Regions from separate parts of the Homo sapiens genome. Here region 1 is linked to region 2. The links are contacts of gene promoters, found by promoter capture Hi-C in human tissues and cell types (Jung and others, 2019). All regions are on one chromosome and are shown on one strand. The core of a region is centred on a gene start or on the middle of the fragment in contact, and the rest is flanking DNA. Distances in the headings are between cores, read along the strand shown. Region 1 overlaps WIPF3 (WAS/WASL interacting protein family member 3). Region 2 holds the start of WIPF3 (WAS/WASL interacting protein family member 3).

Evidence for each region. Contacts are between HindIII fragments. The study calls those that stand out against the background at their distance.
Region 1: a contact is called between a fragment that was not itself captured here and the fragment with the promoter of WIPF3 in region 2, in 1 of the 25 tissues and cell types used here (ovary).

What each region holds. Positions count from the first base shown.
Region 1 is chr7:29,835,026-29,841,667 of GRCh38, forward strand. All of the region lies in intron 2 of WIPF3 (WAS/WASL interacting protein family member 3), which reads left to right. Among named protein-coding and RNA genes, the nearest start is that of WIPF3, 32 kb to the left of the region's middle. The HindIII fragment of the contact is 3,282 bases long and covers 2,754-6,035 here.
Region 2 is chr7:29,802,303-29,808,613 of GRCh38, forward strand. WIPF3 (WAS/WASL interacting protein family member 3) reads left to right here and starts at 4,206. Exons shown (of 9, transcript NM_001080529.3): 1 at 4,206-4,376. RefSeq lists an enhancer at 3,942-4,851. The HindIII fragment of the contact is 12,406 bases long and covers 2,687-6,311 here.

The sequences.
Region 1 (6,642 bases), core at 3,145-5,644, 33 kb after region 2:
CACCTCATTGGTCTACTGATGTCTACCTCATTTCTCTTCTCATTCCTGCTGCTTGGTACAGGCTCGCGAGTCTGAGTGACTTTCTGTCTCACTGGAAACCTCACGCAATGGGCCATGCCAAAGTGCACGGCCAATGAGGCCTTGTGAAGTCAAGTTCCAGTGTGGAATTTGGATGGTGATAATGAGAGATTGAGCTTCAGTCCCCTAGTGTAATAGGAAATGCCACAACGAGATATAAAATCCTTACATGAAGTTTCCCTATCTACACAAGACTGAATCGAGGCTATTTCAGTTCGTGTTGCTGAATGTTCTCTCTTGGTTTCATAGTTTGGTTTGTGTCTAGAAGTGGGCCACTGAGGGTGGTCATTTTGTTTTGGAACAGGGATTCTCAGCCTTGGCACCACTGACATTTGGGGTGAGATCATTTGTGTTGTTTGGGCTGTCCTATGCATTGTAGGATGTTTAGCAACATCCCTGGCATCTACCCACTAGATGCCAGTAGCACCCCCCAATTGTGGCAGTAAAAAAATGGCCCTATATATTGCCAGATGTCCCCTTGTGGGGCAAAAATCACCACCGCACACACGGTTTCAGAAAAATGCTAGTGCTTACTGCTTATGGCAAACTTTTCCTCTGAAGAAAACCAGGAGCACTTCTCACACTCATTTTCCATTCCTCACACCACTTCAGTGAGGGGCGTCTCGCATCCGCTCCGCAGCTTCTGTTTTCCGTGGAAAATGAACGAGATGACGGTATGGCACACAGAGACAGGGCTGCTTAGAGATGGTGTGAGCCAAGTCAGCAGAAGCCAGGAACAGAACCTCCCTGCCATCCTCCCCACCGGATGCAACCCTCCCTCAGATGTGCAGATGACATGGCCCTGAGGAGTGTTGGCTATGAAGGGAGAGCCTGCGGCCCCTGCTGCATGACCACAGGCCCTGGTGAGGGTGAGAGTATGCCTGAGATGTCACCCCACGTGACATTCGTTTGGACACTGACCCTATCTGAGGTGCCAAGGGCTTAGACCTGCCTGGAACTTGGCTCTTGCCCTGCAAGACAGTAGAAAGAAAGCACATAGTATAAATTACGTTTGAGAGCTTTCTAACCAATATAAACAAAGAATAGGAATAGGTATTGAAGTTTCACTGCTGAATTTGACCCAAAGTCAAATTCAAGGTCATTGCCACAAAGTGATGGTTTGTAAGTAAACACACATGAAACTATCATATGGATCTTGCAAGCACTGAAGAAGTACAACTTAGAATAACTGCAAATACTGACGTACCCATAAATTTAGCCAGAATAAATAAACTGAACAAAATCCATGTTATTGGAGGTTTGAGAAAATAATCCTTTTTAAACATTGCTGGTGACAGACAAATGTCTAGGACTCAGTAAAAGTTGAACAGGTCTTTCTGGAGTGTTCTCTGTAAGAAAACAGTAAATGTGTATGTATCATAGTTTTCCCCTGGTAATCAGGTAGTTTTATTTTTGAGACTGATTTAAGAATTTAACCCTAAAAATACCAAAAAGAATTTATGCAAGGATATGTCCAACAATGCTATTTATTCTAGCGAAAAAATAGATCTTAAATGGCTTACGAGAACTAAATGAAATGTGTTATGTCATACTGTTAATTAAAAATTGCATTATGCAGTGGTGGTAATTAAAACTTACATCTGGCGGGGCACAGTGGCTCACACCTGTTATCCCAGCACTTTGGGAGGCCGAGGTGGGCAGATCACCTGAGGTCAGGAATTCAAGACCAGCCTGGCTAACATGGCTAAACCCCATCTCTACTAAAAAATACAAAAATTAGTCAGGCATGGTGGCAGGTGCCTGTAATCCCAGCTACTCAGGAGGCTGTGGCAGGGAGAATTACTTGAACCCAGGAGGCGGAGGTTGCAGTGAGCCAACATCGCACCACTGCACTCCAGCCTGGGTGACAGAGTGAGACTCTGTCTCAAAACAAAAACAAAAACAACTTACATCTATGCTGATATGGAAAAGTAGATATAAAATGATGGATTGGAAACAACACACATTTTGGCCGGGCATGGTGGCTCACACCTGTAATCCCAGCACTTTGGGAGGCTGAGGCAAGTGGATCACGAGGTCAGGAGATGGAGACCACCCTGGCTAACACGGTGAAACCCCGTCTCTACTAAAAATACAAAAAAATTAGCTGGGCATGGTGGTGGGCGCCTGTAGTCCCAGCTACTCGGGAGGCTGAGGCAGGAGAATGGTGTGAACCCAGGAGGCGGAGCTTGCGGTGAGCCGAGACCACGCCACTGCACTCCAGCCTGGGCAACAGAGTGAGACTCCGTCTCAAAAAAACAAACAAACAAACAAATGAAAAACACATTTTGTGCATAATGAAATCAACTACTTAATATATGTAATAAATAGCAAAAATCAGAAGAGAATTTGATAATGTTGACAATAACATTTAATATTTTATTAGGGAATTTCTTCTTTAAAGATGCTTAAATGCATAATAAAAATAATTGTACATTTGGTTAAATTTTTTGAATTCTCTCCTTCATTTCTCTCTCTCTTTCTCTTTCTGAAGAACAGGTCAATTTAGGAGTAAAATAATCATGTAAATTTTAATATTTTCTTAAAACATATTTTCTACATTTATGTAGAAAAATAATGTGTACACTTACAATACATATTAAAGGCAAATAATTAACGTCTTTAGCATATAAAGAGCTCTTACAGATTACTATGGAAATGATGAATACAAAGATGGGCACAGGATATGATTAGATTGAAGAAATGCAAATATTTTAACCTCACTACAGTTTAATAAGAACAAATTAAAATAATGAGAAACCATTTTTATCTATCAGTTTAGTGAGATATTTTTATTTATTTATTTATTTAGTTAGTTAGTTATTTAGTTATTGAGACGGAGTCTTGCTTTTTCGCCCAGGCTAGAGTGCAGTGGCACTATCTCGGCTCACTGCAAGCTCCTCCTCCCAGGTTCACACCATTCTCCTGCCTCAGCCTCCCGAGTAGCTGGAACTACAGGTGCCCGCCACCACGCCCGGCTAATTTTCTCTATTTTTAGTAGAGACGGGGTTTCACTGTGTTAGCCAGGATGGTCTTGATCTCCTGACTTTGTGATCCACCTGCCTCAGCCTCCCAAAGTGCTGGGATTACAGGCGTGAGCCACTGCGCCCAGCCTAGTGAGATACTTTTTAAATGTTGGCTGGAGTATTAGGAACTAGGCACTTATAACTCTTGGTGGGAGCAAAACTTAGTGAAATGCCCTAAGATACAATTTGTCAGTAAAAAATGGACCTAGTTTCACTTCAAGTAATTTTCTTGACATGGCTTCACTTCAAGTAATTTTTATTTAAGTAACTAATCATAGATATACAGAAATATATAGCTATAGGAGATTAATGAAAGTATTACTTGTAATAATAACCAAAAAGAAAGAAACAAAAAACAACCCACATTTTTTATGACAGCAGATTCAATAATTTATTATATATCCTCTAAATGGTATATGAAGCAGCCATTAAAATCATATCAGAATTAAAAAGAAGAAAATGACAAATGTTGGCAAGGATGTGGAGTGATGGAAACTCTCATACACTGCTGGTGGGAGTGTAAATTGATATAAACCCTTTGGAAAACCGTTTGACAGCACCTACCACAGTTAAACATGTGCATCCTAGGTAGATATCCAAGAGAAGTATGTGCCTGCATGACCCAAAAGACATGTTAAGAACATTTGTAGCAGCATGAATAGCACAAAACTGGAAACAACCCCCTATGTCCATCAATGGCAGAATGGATTGATAAAATGTGTGTTATGGTCATGCTCTAAAGTATTATACAGCAGTGAAAATGAATCAACAATACATGCAACAATGTGGAGGAATAGCCACGTGACAAAAGAATACATGCTGTATGATCCCATGTATATAAAGCTCCAAAACAGAAAAAAATAAACTACAGTGTTTAGGAATGCAAGACAAGCTGGTAAAATTATGAGGAAAAGCAAGAAAGGGATAACCATAAAATCAGGAGATGGCACCCTTTGGGAGGAGAGTGGGGGACTCAGGATCAGAAAGGCCCTGGGTGCTTCTAGAGTGCTGGCAAGACTCTAATTCTTGACACAGGTGGCGATGACATACAGTATCACTTTATAGAAATACGTTAAACTGTACAAAATTATTTTATGTGCTTTTCTATTTGTGGCACTGGACAATTTAAAAGGTTAAAAGAGAAAAAAATCATATCCAAATTAATTTGTAACTTCCAATGTCGTGATTGATTCAGACAAGAATCATCTATGAAAGCTAAAACCACTGGGTGAAAGGTTGTGGGGGAAAAAGATGTTCTCAGGGTCAGAAGTATCACCCACAGATGCTTCTTACTGCAAAGGGGAAAGTGTCTCTTTAAAATGGATCAAACTTACCGTCACGTGTAATGGAATGACCTCCTATCACAAGCCTCTGCTGGATACAAGGAGGCGCACAGAGCGTCACCCTGTGGTAATCTGCCCGGAATGAATGACCTCATGAGCAAGCAATCAGACACATGCAGAATGTGGGACCTTCTGCAACAGAGGCTGGCAAACCAGGACCCCTGAGCCACAGCCAGCTCACCACCTGTTTTTTATCGTCCTCCAGCTAAAACTGGTTTTTACATTTTCAAATGGCTGGAAAAAAATTAAAAGAAAAGTAATATTTTGTGACACATGAAAAGTATACGAAATTCATGTTTCAATCCATAAATAGTGTTATTGGAGCACAGCCACACTCATGCAATTTGTCTATGACTGTTTTTATGCTACAGCAGCAGAACACCAATTAAGCAAAATGTTATTCCTCAAAGAATTCCATTCTTCTCACTAGTAGGCTTGAATTTTAAAAATTTTACTCAATTATTATTACTATGTTCTGAGTTCTGTCAATAAATATTTTGTGGAAGTTTCTTTTCTCTTTTGTTATATAAGTATATACATTATATTCTAGATTTTTGCCTCTTGGCCCACATACCTAAAATATTTACAGCCTGGCCCCTTCCAAGAGAAGTTTGCCAACACCTGTCCCGCAGTCAGCTGGGCTCATTCAGCCTCCCATTCCCACTACCCACCACCCACCCACTGCAGTAGCCAGAGATCTTGCATGCGCACATCCTCTGCTTCTCCTCTCGAGAACTTCCTGGACCCTGTTGAGCTGTGGCCCACTCCATCCTGCATGGTCTGGCCCCTGCCTGTCTCTAAGACCTCCTCCTGTGCCCCTGTCCTGGAGTCTCCTACTTAAGGCCTCTGCATAGCCATTGAGAGCCTGGAAAGGCTCTACACAGTCATCCCAGCTCAGGTGTCCCTTCCTCCTACATTACTGGCTTTTATATCTTTTATATCTGCAAACCCCCCACTTCAGAGCAGGTAGTAGTTTTTAACTTTTTTAAAAATTTGACTGGGGTCTATATTTGATGTTTTGTGTCACTCATGCCTGGCTCGAAATAAGTACTCAACTCACTGAATGAATGAATACATGAATGAATGAACAATTATTTATGTAAATTGGGTTAAGAAATGGAGTTAAAACTTTTTATAATCAGTGTTCAGGACTCTAAACATCTATGTTGTGAAAGAAAAAAGTATATTTGAAGGTAGAAAGCATGGTAAGAAAGACTTTGTTTAGGACCATCACAACAGGTGGATAGGATTTTGCAGTAGGGGAGAGAGATTGGGCTCAACTCCAAATACAACATGGGCAAGAGGGAATGTATAGCCCAGGAGCAGGGTGGGGGTCAGTGAATATACTAAAAAGAAACATCAGGGCTAAAGGAGATTCTGGCTGAATGCAGCTAACAAGATTCTTACTGAAGACAAGCCAGGGTGATCGGACATACCCTGGTGGTTGGTGAAGGATAAGGCACCTGATCGGATATCAAGGGTGATCAGATATCGAGATGGGGTCGTTCTTGCTAAACCGACGTAGCAGGGGGTTTTGCCAAAACTGGATTTTACAAGGGAGTGCACAGATGGGCCTGGGAGAAGCTTTGGAAGCTTGGTTAAATTTTGGTTACAAGGTCAGGATTCTCTGGTCAAGCAGAGAGCCTTTGTCAGTGGCATAAGCCAGCATGTCAGGTTTTATTATATGTAATCTTTGTAAGATGGGGATCATTTTGTGTGATATGTCTGATCCTCTGTAACGAAATGCAAACTTCACACCGGCTCTGGAAGACCTGGGGAGTAGGTTAGGGGGAAATTAGGCTAAACATTTTTTAGTTTCAGCCTTCTACCTCTCTCCCCTCACCCCTTCTTGCTCCTCCTCATCTCCGTCGCTGATGAGCATCTTTTCTTTTTTCAAGAGCGTGGAACAGAGAAAAGGGCTGATGGAGCCTGCTGAAGCTGTGGAGCAGGCTTAAAGCAAAGCCAGACGGGCTCTCTTCATCTCCTTTCCCTCTTTTCTTGCTTCTGGTTCCCCAGTTTTTGAGCTCCTTTGTCTGATCTCTTTAAAATTCAATGTTGTCTGGCACAGTGGCTCAAGCCTGTAATCCCAGCACTTTGGGAGGCCAAGGCAGGTGGATCACTTGAGGTCAGGAGTTCAAGACCAGCCTGGCCAACATGGTGAAACCCCATCTCTACTAAAAAATACAAAAATTAGC
Region 2 (6,311 bases), core at 2,956-5,455:
AGATGGAGAGGAGTTGACACTTGGGGTCTTCTTCACAAAGAGGGAAGAGCACATTCAAAAAGCCTGTGACACGAAGGAATATTGCTGTCAAAGGATCTGAAAGCAGGGCAACATGGCTGGAGGACAGAGATGGAGGGGAGGACTGAGAAAGGTGCGTTGGAGAGTGGGTCAGGCCAGGTCATGAGGGCCTTCAGACAAAGCTCGGGATCTTGGTTTTATCATCAGAGCAATGAGAATTCATTGAACTACAGATAATGTGAATTGATAAGATCAGCTTTGGGTTTCAAGACGCTCTCCCCGGCCACACTGGGGAGAATGCTTTAGAAGAGAGAAGTGGCATATGATTACAGAGGGAAAAGCTAACAGGTTCCTGGGAAAGTCCTGGAGAGAGGTGATGATGGGCTCTAGTCTCAGCTGGTGGTACAGATGGGCAAAATTGGACAGATTCAACAGGCTCAACCTCAAGGAGGGTTGATGGGGGAAAAGTAGCTTTACAAAATTTCTGGGTGGTCCAACTAGATGGCGGGGGGTGGGGGGCATTGGGGGATGGGCAACAGAGTGGGTCAGGTTTGGAAGGAAGACCTGAAGTGTGGTTCCAGACCTGTAGCATTTGAGGCTCCTAAACCACCAAGCTCTTTCAGACTTTCTTTTCCCTGAAATGCCCTCCCTTCCCCACTTTCTGACAGGAGAAACTCCATTCATTAATGGATGCCCAACTCAGGTCTTGCAGGCTCCCTCCTTTTCTACAGATAGTTCATCATTTCTTCTCCTGTATCAGCTCTCTCTACAGCACAAGCTCCTCTCCTACCCAAAATTGCAATATTCTCTTCACAAGCTGTGTTCTCTACTAAGCTGTTGGCTTCCTGGGGGGCAGGGCTGTGAATTCATCTTTGCACCCCTAGCACCAGTGCAGTATCACCAGAAAATAGCTGATCTGTACATATTTGAGAGATTGAAGTGAGCACATGTGTACAAAACACTTAATATTTCTGGAGTGCCTTTCTCCTGAAGAGCTCAAGAAGTTACAGAACAGATATAAATATATGTTTGCAAGTGGAAGGTGTGAAAGGTGAGCTATTGCAGACACTTGGTGAGTGAAGAGAAGAAAAGAGGAGGTTTTTGCTCTTTACCAGGTCATAGTATAAGTTAGGAATACATTTGGCTGCAAAATTAGAAAACGAATTCTCAGAGGCTGAAACAAACATGGGTTATTTTTCTCACATAGGATATAGTCCATCCAGAGGTGGACAGTTGCACACTTTGGCTCAAGTGCGCAGTGATACCACACTGACTCTATTTCCCAGTGTGTTGTCCCAATTATATTGACCTTTTGGCCTCACAGTCTTTGGCTCTTGATTGCAATCTGGTTGTAGCATTACTAGGCATTTCATTTGCATTCAAATCATAAAGAAAGTGGGAAATGGGCTGGGCGCGGTGGCTCACGCCTATAATCCCAACACTTTGGGAAGCCAAGGTGGGCAGATCACCTGAGGTCAGGAGTTCGAGACCAGCCTGGCCAACATGGTGAAACCCCGCCTCTACTAAAAATACAAAAATTACCTGGGCATGGTGGCAAGCGCCTGTAATCCCAGCTACTCAGGAGGCTGAGGCAGGAGAATCTCTTGAACCCCGTAGGCGGAGGTTGCAGCGGGCCAAGATGGTGCCATTGTACTCCAGCCTGGGCAGCAAGAGCAAAACTCTGTCTAAAAAAAAAAAAAGAAAAAAGAAAAGAGGGAAAAGGAAAGACAGAACCAGAAAAAATTTTTCAGAGGCTCCCCCACCAGACCCTTCTTTCAACTCATTGGCTAGAACTGGGTCAATGACTTCCTTAGCTGTAAGAAAGACTGGGAAATCAGGAAGGGGATTGTCATGGTCGTCTTGGATCAATCATAATCCTGGGTTCTGTCACTAAGGAAGAAGTGGAGAATAGACTGATAATTGGGAAGACAATTCACAGTGTCTGCCACTGAACAAGTACCATCTACTAGGAAGAGCTAGTGCCTTCTTGAAGTCAATTTGTCTTAGTGGAGCTAGGTGGAAATGAATCCCTCCCTAATGTCCGTAGGAACAAGATGCTAATGGTATTGTTACTTCACATGGATAGAAAACACTGATCACCTGAATGGAATGCCTCTTGAAGCTTTCAGCCCCAAATGTCCAAATTGATTCCTCACTCACCACCTCCCCATCCCTACAACCAGGCATTTTAAAAAACAAATTCTTTGATCCAATCCAGCATCTCTTGAGATAAATAACAGGCTTTCCATCCAACTGGCTCATGCTTGGGCTGCTCAGGAGATCTGATGGGAACTCTCTAGGCCCATGGCAATGTCTTCTCTAATAGTTTGACTTTTCTTCCTTTTTGAATTAGAATACTAGTGGTTATGTATTTAGTGAGCTTTAGCACTGGAGGTCCAGAGAAGGAGAGTGGCTGGGTCATGTTTTGGGGTTTTGGGTTTTGTTTTTGTTTTAGTAACAATCACCCATGTAAGAGGGCTTATGAATTTTATGTTGGAGAACTGTTCTTCAGGTTCCATACCTGTGGTCATCTATTATGATTCTAAAGGAGGAAAGGGCAAGAGGAACTCAGGACAAACAGGTGGAAAGCAAGTGCCTCATCAGCTTCCACTCACTACACATAGACCTTTCGTCACCTAAATCAAAAGAGAAAACCATGTTCTTGACGACACTGGAGTGAAAGACATCAAAAGTGTATTATTAATCCTTGCTTTCGACACATTGCCCAGCTACAAACATGAGTAATTAAGAGATCAGCTAAGGGCTGCTTGGGGAACATACTTTGACAGCAGCCACTACAGAACTTGAACCTGAATACAGGCTGCAATCCACGTGTGAGATCTTCCCTGCTGGCATTGGCTGCTCCCTCACCTGGGTCCCCAACATTTCACACAAGCCTCAGCACAGCGCTGAGCGCCAGGTTTCTCCTCTATTCCAGACCAGCAGCAACTTTAGAGTTAGACACCTTGCCCTGAGGCCCTGCAGAGTGTCTGGCTCATGGCAGATACTCAAACACCGAGGCTGAGTGAACAGTCCACGAGTACCCGCTTAGCTCCTCCACTAGCAGGAATGCCCAGGACATGGGCAATACAGAATCCTCACCCAATGATCTCAGCACCTACAGCAATGCATTCAGCCTCGGACACAAACTTTCTGCATCCTCCAAGGGCCTGAACAAGAAATGTGACAGAAGCAAGGTTTTCCGTTCTTCAAGCTTATTTCAGGTTTGTTTTTGTTTGTTTCTTTGTTTGGTTTGGTTTGGTTTTTTGAGACAGGGTCTCACTCTATCGCCCAGGCTGGAGTGCAGTGGTTCATTGCAACTTTTGCCTCCTGGGTTCAAGAGATCCTTCCACCTCAGCCTCCCGAGTAGCTAGGACTAGAGAGCGCCACCACACCCGGCTAACTTTTGTATTTTTTGGTAGAGACAGGGCTTCACCATGTTGGCCAGGCTAGTAACTCCTGACCTCAAGTGATCCGTCCACCTCGGCCTCCCAAAGTCCTTGGATTCCAGGCTTGAGCCACCGCGCCCGGCCCTATTTCAGTTTTCAGTCTGCTTTCTCCTCCCTTCGACTCTACCTGGGACATCAATCTACCTCCCCAGGCTACCCGGATAATTCTCTCATCACCTGGCTAATTCACACTCAGTCTTCAGTTTTTCTCGTCGACGTCAGCTCCTCAAGAAGCCCTCCCTGACCTACTCCCCACCCCAAGTTTAGATCAGGTGCTCCCTCTGGGAGCCGGCTCAGGAGGCCTCTGCCTCCTCTTGGTTGTGCTGTAATCGCCCATTGGTCGCTTTCCTTTTCTAGACTGTGAACTCCACGAGGGCAAGAGGTAATCTTGTTCTCTCGTCCCCATCGCTTATGACACCGCCTGGAGCTTAGTAAGGGCTCAACATTTTGGAATAAATTCAAGGAGTGGCGTGTCCCCAGAGTAGCTGTGCTGGGCCGTGTGCCGCCCGCGCAACAGCTCCTATTTGGGGAATTCCAGCCTTAGGCCTCAGTCTCTCCGCAGCTGAGACTTGGGACTCTGTACCCGGGAGGCGCGCCCGCCGACTTGGGACCCGCCTCCAGGGTCCCAGAGCGACCCCGCCCGCCGGGGCCGTGTCCCTGCCGCGGGGCGGCGGCGGCTCCCAGGCAGGAGCCTGCGAGCAGGTGGGGGCGGCGGCCCCGCCTCCGCGTCCCGGCAGCACCAGAGCCGGTGGCCGGGGAGCGAGCCGGGCGCACCGAGCGCAGCTCGGCGGTAGCGGCGCCGCTTGGAGCACGGGCGCTGCGGGACGGAGCCCGGAGCCGGAGGCGGCGGCGGCGGAGACGTCGGCCGGAGCTCGAGTCCAGTCCAGCCCCCGGCTCCGCCACCTGCAGGTAGCGGCTTCCCGCGCGGGTGCGGGTCGGTGCCCGAGGGTGGAAGGAACGGGCGGTGTGGCGGCCGCCGCCCTGGTCGGTCCCGGAGCAGAGTGGCCCGGCCCGGGACAGAGATCCTGAGGGCGTGGGAGGGCCGGGGAACCCCCGCCGGGCTGCAGCCCCGGGCCCAGGAGGTTGTCGACGTGCCGCGCGGCGCTCACGCCCCCCACCCGCACCCTGCCACGCCGCCCCGGCCGGGCCGGGCCGGGCCGGGCGGAAACAAACCGCGGGGTGGGGAGCGAGGTCACCACGGGGTTGCTTGGTGACTTCTCCGGACTGGACTCCCCGGTGAGCAGCCCCTGGCACCGAGGCCGCCTCGGCCTGGTCCTTCGCGACGCTCTCTCTTCTCCGCTTCGCCCCCGGAACAAAAGGCTGGGGTCTCGCTGGGGAGGGGGCTGTCGCGGGAAGGGCTGGGGCGGAGTAAAAGAGAGCTAGGAAATTGCAGAGCCGGAGGTGGCTTGGGGAATACAGAAGGAGCCCCCTAGTGAGGAAGCCAACTCCAGAGATGTGAAGTGACTTGTCCAAGGTCACACAGCTCATGGGGACAGAGCGCAGGTCTCTGGACACCCCTCCCGTGCTCATCTCCAAGCCCCTGGGGTCAGTAGTCAGACTGTGCTCCAGCAATGTACATTTGGCCACAAATGGGTTTAGGGTCCTTTGGAGGATTAGGTGGTGGGTAGGTAGGTGGCAGAGCAGATTTCCCCCAGCCCCTGACACGCACTCTCTGAAGGTGGCGGGGAGGGCGGGCACCCGGCCGCCCTGGACCTGGAGGAGCGCCGCCCGGGCCCCGTGGGCAGGCAGGCACCGGCTCTCAGGAACAGCGCCTTTGGAGGGTGGCGTGCCAGCCGCGTGGGTGTGCCCGTGGCGGGCGCCGGGGCGGCGTGGGGACCGTGTGTGCGCCTCCCTCTGGAAAGAAGTTTCTGCAGGGAAAGGCCAGGAGAGCGGTTCCATGCGCCCTGGGACAGTGTGGCCAATCCCTGACACTCAGGGCGCTTTGTAACTGGCTGTATTGGGGAGGAAAGTTACTCTGTAGCAGGAAGTTAGGCTGTCTCTTCGCCTCTGTGCCTGGGGTCCTTGGCTGTAAATGAGGGCCTTGTTTGGCATGACCAGTGTGATTTAGAAGGTTTGTGCCCCTCCGCCTCCTCCTTTCCAGAATCTTTTCTCACTTCACAGGGAGGACTGGGAGTGCACTTCTTGTGCCCAGCATTAATAGTTATCACTGGGACTCCTGCCTCCCTTCAATTTTTTTTAACTTTATCATTACGAAAGAGGTCAGAGGAGAGGTTGTTTTTGGGCCTTGCAAGGAGATAAACTCCAGGTCAATACCTGGACAGGACATGAGGGAGGCTTCTGGGATGCTAGAAATGCTTCTCACCTTGACCTAAGAATTACTGAAGTTATACCCTTGAGACTTGTGCACTTAACGTAAATTCTACCTCAGTGAAAAAGTAAATAAAAATGTGATGCTAAAGTCCACTCATTGTGGTAACACACAGATTGCTGCAGTTTTCCAGCTAATGCATTTCAAAGATACATTTAAAAACCACAAAAACCAAATCAGAAAAGAAGTGGCGAGGAGGGGCAAAAGAAAGTTAAGAAGTAACTGGAAATGAAACATACACTGCAGATGCCTTTATGTGCATCACCTCCTGTGATTCGCAGCAATTCTTTAACAGAGATATTGTTATTGTGCCTTTTTTACAGATGAGAAAATAAAAGGTCACAGAGGTTAAATTACTTACTCAGGGTAACAGCCTGGGCACACAGACTTCAAATTCTAGACAGGCAACCTTCAACAGGCAATTTGTGGCCACCTGAATCGGGGCAGAGCGGTCAGGGTGACAGACACTTGTAGGCTGGCTTCCTGCCATTGCCCCCTTTTTGTTCCTTTAGGAG